Linked DNA regions of Homo sapiens: region 1 is linked to region 2. Evidence: promoter capture Hi-C in human tissues and cell types (Jung and others, 2019). All regions are on one chromosome and are shown on one strand. Each heading gives the region's core, a stretch centred on a gene start or on the middle of the fragment in contact. The rest is flanking DNA. Distances are from core to core; before and after follow the strand shown.

Region 1 (4,572 bases), core at 1,087-3,586, 510 kb before region 2:
GGAAAAGGACAGTCTTTTCAATAAATGGTGCTGGGAAAACTGAGTATCTGTATGCAGAAGAATGAAACTAGACCCCATCTCCCACCATTTACAGAAATCAAATACAGATGGATTAGAGACTTAAATCTAAGACCTTAAACTATGAAACTACTACAAGAGAACATTGGAGAAACTCTCTGGAACATTGGACTTGGCAAAAATTTCTTGAGTAATGACCCACAAGCACAGGCAACCAAAGCAAAAATGGACAAATGGGATCACATCAAGTTAAAAAGCTTCTGCACAGCAAAGGAAACAAAGTGAAGAGAGAACCCACAGAATGAGAGAAAATATTTATAACCTACCCGTCTGATAGGGGATTAATAATCAGAATATATAAGCAGCTCAAACAAGAGGAAAAAACAAATAATCCAGTCCAAAAAATGGGCAAAAGACACTTTGGGAAAATGAGGCGGGTGGATCACGAGGTCGGGAGATTGAGACCATCCTGGCTAACATGATGAAACCCCGTCTCTACTAAAAATACAAAAAATTAGCTGGGCGTGGTGGTGGGCACCTGTAGTCCCAGCTACTCGGGAGGCTGAGGCAGGAGAATGGCGTGAACCCGGGAGGCAGAGCTTGCAGTGAGCCGAGATCGCACCACTGCACTCCAGCCTGGGCAAAAAAAGGCAAAAGATTTGAACAGACGTTTCTCAAAAGAAGACATACAAATGGCCAATAAGGATATGAAAAAGTTATCAACATCACTAATCATCAGAGAAATGCAAACCAAAGCCACTATGAGATATCATCTCACCATAGTTAAAATGGCTTGTATCCAAAAGGCAGGCAATAATGAATGCTGGCAAGGATGTGGGGAAAGGGGAACCCTCATACACTGTTGGTTGGAATGTAAGCCACTGTGGAGAACCGTTTGGATGTTCTCTAAAAAACTAAAAATAGAACTACCATGTGATCCAGCAATCCCATTGCTAGGTATAAACCCCCCGAAATAAAATCAGTATATTGAAGAGATATCTACACTCCCACGTTTATTGCAGCACTATTCACAATAGCCAAGATTTGGAATCAATCTAAGTGTCCATCAACAGAAGAATGGATAAAGAAAATGTGGTGTGTGTGTGTGTGTGGGTGTGTGTTATGTATATATATATATATGAAATATTATTCGGCCATAGAAAGAGTGAAAGCTTGTCATTTACAACAACATTCATGGAACTGGAGGACATTATGTTAAGTGAAATAAGCCAGGCACCAAAAGACATATATCACATATTCTCACTCATATGTGGGAACTAAAAAATACATTGAACTCATAGAGAGTAGAATAATGGTTACCAGAGGTTAGGAAGGGCAGTGGGAAGAGGGGGATAATGAGGGCATGGTTAATGGGCACAAAAATACAGTTATAGAAGGAATAAGATCTAGTGTTTGATAGTATAATGGGGTAACTATAGTTAAAAACAATTTATTGTATATTTCAAAATAACTAAATGAGTGAAATTGGAATGTTTCTATCACACAGAAATGATACATTCTTGAGGTGGTGGATACCCCAATTACCTTGATTTGACCATTATGCATTGTATGTTTGTATCAAAATATCACATGTACCCCATAAATATGTACAACTAATAGATATCCATAATAATAATAATTTTTTAAAAAAAGGAACTTAAAGCACTCATTAGGGTGTTTGAGATCAGGAGACTTTTCTTACCAAAACTATAACAAAAGAGCCTTTTATCTAGAGTACACAAATAAACTAAAATGTAATGAGACATTTATTTGCTTGTTTGTATAAATACACCAAAATATACGCATTGGAATAGTCAAAGCGGAAGGCAATTTACTTAAGCCAGTGATGCTGTCGGTTGGTTTTCAAAAATGCCTGTGAAACTTCTCTTTCGGAATCACCCATGAAGCTGGATTATGAGCTCCCATGAAACCAGACTCATCACTCAAACTAAGACTTGGTTTGTGACCCCAGACAGCGTTTCCCAGCATGATCACCCAACCTACTCAGCAGACTGCTCCAAATGGCTTAGAACTGTTTTCAAAACTCACATCCTCCCTGTGAGGATACATGCTGTCAGAATTATCTTTCTAAAACACATCTCAGATCATGTGCTTCACTAGCTCTCAGTTGCATAGATAATTAAGCCTCAACTTCTCAGCCTGATTTTCAAAACTTTATTATACAACCCCCACTCAGCCTTCCAGTTCTGTCATCGACCAGCAGTCTCCTATGAACACACGATGCCCTCTCTAGTTACCAATGAAAGGTACCATTTACTGAGCTTTTATTATGTGCCCCACACTGCACTAAAAGCTTTAAACAATATCTCATTTTATCCTTATAGGATTTTGTAGGATAAATATTATCTCTATAGTACAAATAATAAAACAATGATTGCTAGCTGTTTTTATAGTGCTTACAATGTGCTAAGGTATTGTTCTATAGAAATATGTGTGCCACATATGTAATTTTACGTTTTTCATAGCCACATTAAAAAGTAAAAAGAAACAAGTGAAGCTGATTTTAATAAAATATTTTGTCAAGGAGCATGTAATTAACATAAAAAATCATTAATGAGATATTTCACATTTTCTTCCCTTTTTTTTGGCACTAAGTCATTAAAATTGGTGTGTATTTTACACCTATAACATATCTCAATTTGGATGCTAAACTTTCACTGGAAATATTTGAATTCCAATGAAATCAACACAATAAATACTGTGTTTATATTTTTAAAAATGCACGGTAAAAAAAAAAGTAGATTACACACCCAAGTTGTTACAAACATATTGGGAAGAATCAAGTAACAAAAAGTCATTTCCTTTTCTATTCTCATCCAAATTGTTAAAAATTCCTTGGATTTAACATTTTAGATTTCACTTTCAATCAATTAAAAGAGTTAAAATTTTAGTTTCTAATGTTGCACTAGCCACATTTCAAGCCTCAGTAGCCACATGTGGCTGTGGCTGCCATGCTGGACAGCACAGCTCTAAGCACTTTACTACTATGAGGTAGGTGCTGTTATTATCTTCACTTTATTCTCAGCAAACTAACAAAAGAACAGAAAACCAAGCACCACATGTTCTCACCGCATTGTTCAAGTGGGAGTTGAACAATGAGAACATATGGACACAGGAATGGGAACATCACACATCGGGGCTTGTCGGCAGGGGTGGGGGGCTAGGCGAGGGACACCGTTAGGCGAAATACCTAATGTAGATGATGGGTTGATGGGTGCAGCAAACCACCATGGCACATATACATCTATGTAACAAACCTACACGTTCTGCACATGTATCCCAGAACTTAAAATATAATTTAAAAAAAAGGAAAGAAAAGAAAAGAAAAAATAAAATGGAGGCACAGAAAGTCGTAACTTGCATTAGTGCACTCAGCTGACGGACTGAATGGTTTCATTTGTCAGAATGCTTTCATTTGCTCAGAATGGTTAATTTGTCCAAGGTGACTTTGCTAATAAGGGTTAGAGCCAGGAGTTGAACTCAGGATTAAGTTCGTAGCCTAAGTTTTTGCCATGGTGCTCATTGCTCTACACATTTAATTGCTCGCTATTATCCTAAAATCCTTAATTGATGCTGGTCTTTTTTGTCAGACTGTTACCTCTGTCTGTATTGCCTTGCAAGTTCCATTTTAAGTATCATTCATTCACCCATTTATTCACTCAGTAAGTTAATTGCTTTTTCCAGCAAATACTGTTAGCCATTTTTCAAATATCCGCCACATAGACAATAGCCGTGAACAAAACAAGGCAGACCCGGCCTCTGCCCACACAGAACTTTTAGTTTAACAGCACTTCTCAAACTTAAATCTCCAGACCCTATAACACTCTAAACATTGTTGAGGACCCCCAAGAGCTTCTGGCTATGTAGGTTATAGCTATTAATATTTATTGTAATAGAAATTAAAACTAGGACATTTTAAAAACATTTATTTATCCATTCATTTAAAGATAACATAATATGGCCGGGTGTGGTGGTTCACACCCATAATCCCAGCACTTTGGGAGGCTGAGGCAGGCGGATCACTTGAGGCCAGGAGTTTGAAACCAGCCTGACCAACATGGTGAAACCCCATCTTTACTAAAAAACACAAAAATTAGCCAGGCGTGGTGGCACGCACCTGTAATCCCAGCTACTCGGGAGGCTGAGGCAGGAGAACCACTTGAATTCGGTAGGCAGAGGTTGCAGTGAGCTGAGATAGTGCCACTGCACTCCAGCCTGGGTGACAGAGTGAGACTCTGTCTCAAAAAAAATAAATAAATTTAAAAAAGGAACATAGCATAATAAACCCATTATATGTAAACACAAAGAGTGTATGATTATGAAAATATAACTATATTTTCCAAGACAAAAATTAATTAGGAGAGTGGCATTGTTTTCCAACTTTGCTAATCTCTTTAATGTGTGACTTAATAAAAGACAGCTGGATTCTCATCTCTGCTTCTGTCTTTAATCTGTTGCAATATGTTGATTTGGTTGAAATGTATAAGGAAAATCTGGCCTCAACCAGATATGTAATTGGAAGAGAGAGCAGTG
Region 2 (4,939 bases), core at 2,113-4,612:
CTTTATGCCCATTCCTGTATCCCCTCCAACACCCACATCTGCATTAAACACCCGTGCCTTTCTCTTGGAGAGGGTTTAGATGCAGATCCCGGCCCTGGAGCTTTAAAATGCTTGCCCTTCCTTCTTCAAGGATCAAATGTTTATTGGGGTTCAGCTTTGTTTTCTCAAAAGGCCATGGTATCGTGCCCCTGAGGAACATGTTTATCTAAGAAGCTTTGAGGTAGTAGAGCGATAATTTTTGAAACCTTCCTCCTGCAATCTTTAAAAAAGAAAAAAAAGATTGCCCAAACAAATCATTTGGGAGAAGACATCATTATACTCCTACTTGGCACTGCAAACCTGCTCGCAGCACCAGCCGGTGGACTTGCCATCCAGCTCTCAGCTTCCACTGCTCCCCTTGTTCCCGGCCGGCTGGCTGCCTCCCCGTGCTGTGTCCAGCACGGCCAACAACGTCAGACCCTCAGAGACGCCCAAGGGGCTTCCAGAGGTGGCCGCTTCTCTATTTTTTCCTGATTGTGGCTGAGAGAGATGATTACTGCTTTGACACTTCCTTTCTCTAAAAGAAAAATAGTTTGATAGTATATTTTGAATATAGATGCTCTTATAGTCAGATTGGGAATTGAACTTGAATATTGGGTCATATGTTTGTGTTGTTGCTGTAGTCTATCATGACTTTTTTCTTTCTGCATTTTCCTTAAAAAAAAAAAAAAGATGGCCTTCAAAAGTGTGTTCTCAATGTTGTATGAACCTCCTTCACATGAGTTCGGTTGTTGTCTCTCTTCAAAGACTCTTCAACCCACAAAGAAGCAACTAAATGTTTCTCTAAGTTTAATTTTCTAGCGTGTTGTTGTCTTACCTTTTTAACCTTACCATAATATTTCTGTTAACTGTTACATTTAATATACCAATGTGTGTAAGTATACAGAGAAAAATCTGTTTGTAAAGTAAAATTTATATATAATATATGTAATCAAAGATACATATGTTATATATACATATGTGGATGTATGACTTATTTTTCCTTATCCACAGATTTCAGCTACCATGTATATATAAATAAACTTATTTTATTAGCCAGAGGATTCTGTTGCTAATACATTTTGCATTCTTTTCAAGATAAGCTCTAAGTCTTCCTTAAGCAGTACCAACACCACTTTATATCCATCTGTATTTTTTAATCTGATTTAACAGTAAGTTGAGTTTTATGTATGTGATGAGCTAATAGGATTAGCAGTTTATCATTTGATAAAATAAATCTTTTTGAACATGTTTGCAGTTTCTCCAAAACAGACTCATCTTTCATCAGGTCTTTGGAGACAGTGGTGTCAAAGTACATCCCCCCCTCTTTCTCCCTGTCTCCAGGGCTGAGTGGATTTATATAGTAAATATCTTTGGTCCGGAGAAGTCTGAAGTTAACCTGGCCATTGAGTGTTACCATTCTGTAGAGAATAACAATGCCTAAACATGACACATTTGTGCACAACTTAATCAGTAGCCTGAACTTTTCATTCAGCCTTGGACAATACATCTTGGAATTCACAATAATGCAGATCCTCAGAACCAAGTCAGTGTCATCCGTATAGGAGGCTGTTACTGTAACACAGGCTCGCATGCCCCTTCTGGGTGCATCAGGGGTGGTGTTCACAGCATTAATGCTACATCTGAATAAACAAGGACACTACTGGCCTTTACTTAATCCAATTGGTTCTTTCATCTGTTCATCAAATAGCCAACACTGATATTTATAAAATACCTCCCAGGCCATCTCAGAGAGACAAAGTGGAAGACAATAAAGAAAGGAAGGGTTGGAGTGTCCTGGTCAGTAGGAAGGAAGTGCACACAGGGTCCTCTAGTAGGCGACCAGGTTTTTTACCTCTACCTGCGTGACCTCAGGTAGGTACTCTGCTCTCTGGGTGGTGGGCAACAGGGAGGCTCCTAAGTAAGTCAGTGGCCCAGAGTTTGGAAGAGGTTGTCTGCCCCCAGCTCTGCTACTTTCTGGACATAGAACCTTGGGCAAGTCATTGCAGCTCTCGGGGTCCTCCTCACATAAGAGGACAGTGGCCAACTGTAGGACATGTCATTTTAGAGCTGTGAGGTACACAGCCCATATGGCAGTACCTGTCAACCCTGGACCTCCTTCCTCCTGAGGTTGAGTTGAGAATTCCACGAAATAAACCATAGGATTCATGCACACACCAGGCTGGATCTGCTACTCACTAGAGATTGACTCCCTTCTCCTTCTCTCACCTGAGGTACATTCCTACATTACAGCATCTGGAAAAGTATCCAGCTCTGGGGTTTGGTGACCTGGTTTCTCCAGGGTAAAACTTATGTACAGAGGTTTTTAGGTCCATGTTGTCATCCTGTAACTGGGGGAACCTTTCTGATCCTAGAGAAGTGATTGAGGTGTGACCCTTGGTGGCTTAGTGGATGCCAAGGTCAATAATTAAAACCCAGGGGTGTCATCATATCCTAACTTGGGGCACCCTTGGAGAGGCTTACCAGAAAACACCCTCGTTGTTGTTTTTATTTCTCAGTTTTCCAACAGATGGAGAAGCAGAGGTGTAGGGAATGGCCGGAACATGTGTGGGATCTGAATTTGCCCAAGGTCCTTATCTGGTGCATCAGAGAGTTAAAGGCCCAAGCCAATGTTCAGACAGTGAGGTCCAGAGGGAGGAAGCATCCTGGCCAACAGCAAGCAGCTGATGAACAGCAGAGCATTAGAGGACAGAGATGAGGAGGAAAGGAGAGAGGTGAGGGAAGGACCTGAAGCTGCTGCCAGGACTGAGAGAGGAAACCATAGGCAAGTCTTTTCTCTTGGGTCCCTGGAGCTGCCTCCTGCCATTTTTCATCCTCTATTGCCTGTGTGGACATGTGTTCACATTCACATGTGCCAGCACACATAGGGATGTAGAAAGCCCTGAAATAGCTAGATTGAGTCCTAGCTTGTAATCTGAGGTCTGGGGCAAGTGATCAGTACACTTGTCATCTGAGGTCCTTGAGCCTCAGTTTACTCATCTGTAAAATGGGGTTGCTTGATGCCTGCCTTGCCCACTTAGGTAGTAAAATGCACAAACCCAAATGGTCTACCTCCACAGCCTGCACTGATCCAGCCTCCCCCACCACCAGCAGAATAATCTGGGAGGTTGGGCACATGACCCTGCATCAAAGAATGCATGAGTGCCTCTCTGCACACAGCCCTGGGCAGTGCCCATTTCTCTTTCAGCTCAGTGAATGATGGAAACTCATGGAAGACAGCAGACAAAGCAGCCCCAGGGATAGGGGAGATTCCAGAGAGGCCCGTGACCAGGCCACAGGGATGCTGGGGCTGTAAACCAAAAGCCACTGGACTCTGTAAACCCACTGGGCACCACAGAGGCAGAAGGGGTGATGAGTGAGAGGCGAGTGGTAGTGGACTTGCCCACCAGTGCCAGCTCCAGCATGCCCCTCCAGAGGCGCAGGGCGTCCTTCAGGGGGCCACGGTCATCATCCTCCCTGGAGAGCCCCCCAGCCTCCAGGACCAATGCCATGAGTGGCCTTGTCCGAGCACCCGGGGTCTATGTAGGAACAGCACCCAGTGGGTGCATAGGTGGCTTGGGTGCCCGTGTGACCCGCCGGGCCCTCGGCATCAGCAGTGTCTTCCTTCAGGGCCTGCGGAGCTCAGGCCTGGCCACCGTGCCGGCTCCAGGTTTGGAGAGGGACCATGGTGCTGTTGAGGACCTAGGGGGCTGCCTGGTGGAATATATGGCCAAAGTGCACGCCCTTGAGCAAGTCAGTCAGGAGCTGGAAACACAACTGCGGATGCACCTGGAGAGCAAAGCCACACGCTCGGGAAACTGGGGTGCCCTACGGGCTTCCTGGGCCAGCAGCTGCCAGCAGGTAAGTGTCCAGGCTGTGCCAAGGGCTTTGCAGAGGGCTGGGAGGGGCTGCTGAAGGCAGCGGGTAGGGTTGTGAGTAGGCTGAGGCCAGAGAAACTGACCATAATCCCCTACACTTTCACACTTAAAATGGTAATGATAACAACAATGCTACCTTTTACCGAGGTTTACTAGGAGCCCACGCTAGCCCCCATACGTGCACTACCCACTGTCTTCTTTAAACTTCAAAGAAATGCTATGCAGTGGATCATTCACTGATTGCATTTTTCAGATGAGAAACTGAGGCATGTAATTTGCCCAAGACTTCAAAGCTAGTAGAGGGATGGAGATGAGATTTGAACCTGAATTTTTGTGCCTCCAAAGTTGCATTTGCCCCATTACCCTGGGGCTGCCTCAGTCACCTTTACTGTTGAGAAGGGATTTTTACAGCTATTATCCAATCAAATACCATTGGATGGATGAGGTGTTAAGAACAATGAATAAATGGAGGTGTGTTCCTGTATCCACCTACAACCACGCTGTTCAATAGAAATATGAACTACATTGGTAATTGACAAGTTTCTATTACCCACAGTAAAACACGTAAAAAGAAGCAGGTGAAGTTAATATTATAGCTTATTTAACTCTATATGTCCAGAATGTTATTTCAACATGTAATCAATACAAAATATATTAATGAGGTAATTTACATTCAAGTAGAGCTTTCTGCGTGATGGAAATATTAATATCTTATATCTGCACTGTCCAATCTGGCAGCCACTAGCCATATATGGCTATCAAGCACTTGAAATGTGGCTAATGAGACTGAGGAATTGCATTTTTATTTTATCTAATTTTCATTAATTTAAATGTAAACAGCCACAGGTAGCTAATGGCTATCTTATTGGACAGGGAAGGATGCAGAGGTTTCATCTTTCTCCCTTGCTTGGTCAGCCCTGCTTTTCCCACTCTCCAGGGTGATTTCTGCGGAGTCTGGAGCACATCCATCATGTCTGGCCTGCAGCCTGTAGTTCTAATGCTGGGACTCCAGCCAGCATTACACCTCTCAGCTGGTCTCTCTG

The links. The method cuts DNA at HindIII sites, captures the fragments that hold promoters and counts their contacts. A contact is called where the count stands out against the background at its distance.
Region 1: a contact is called between a fragment that was not itself captured here and the fragment with the promoter of BFSP2 in region 2, in 1 of the 25 tissues and cell types used here (aorta).

What each region holds. Positions count from the first base shown.
Region 1 is chr3:132,885,308-132,889,879 of GRCh38, forward strand. No RefSeq gene overlaps it. Among named protein-coding and RNA genes, the nearest start is that of TMEM108, 150 kb to the right of the region's middle. The HindIII fragment of the contact is 3,209 bases long and covers 733-3,941 here.
Region 2 is chr3:133,396,694-133,401,632 of GRCh38, forward strand. It overlaps BFSP2 (beaded filament structural protein 2), which reads left to right and starts at 3,363. Exons shown (of 7, transcript NM_003571.4): 1 at 3,363-3,879. The coding sequence starts at 3,391. TMEM108 (transmembrane protein 108) reads left to right here. Exons shown (of 6, transcript NM_023943.4): 6 at 1-1,082. The HindIII fragment of the contact is 25,133 bases long and covers 1-4,939 here.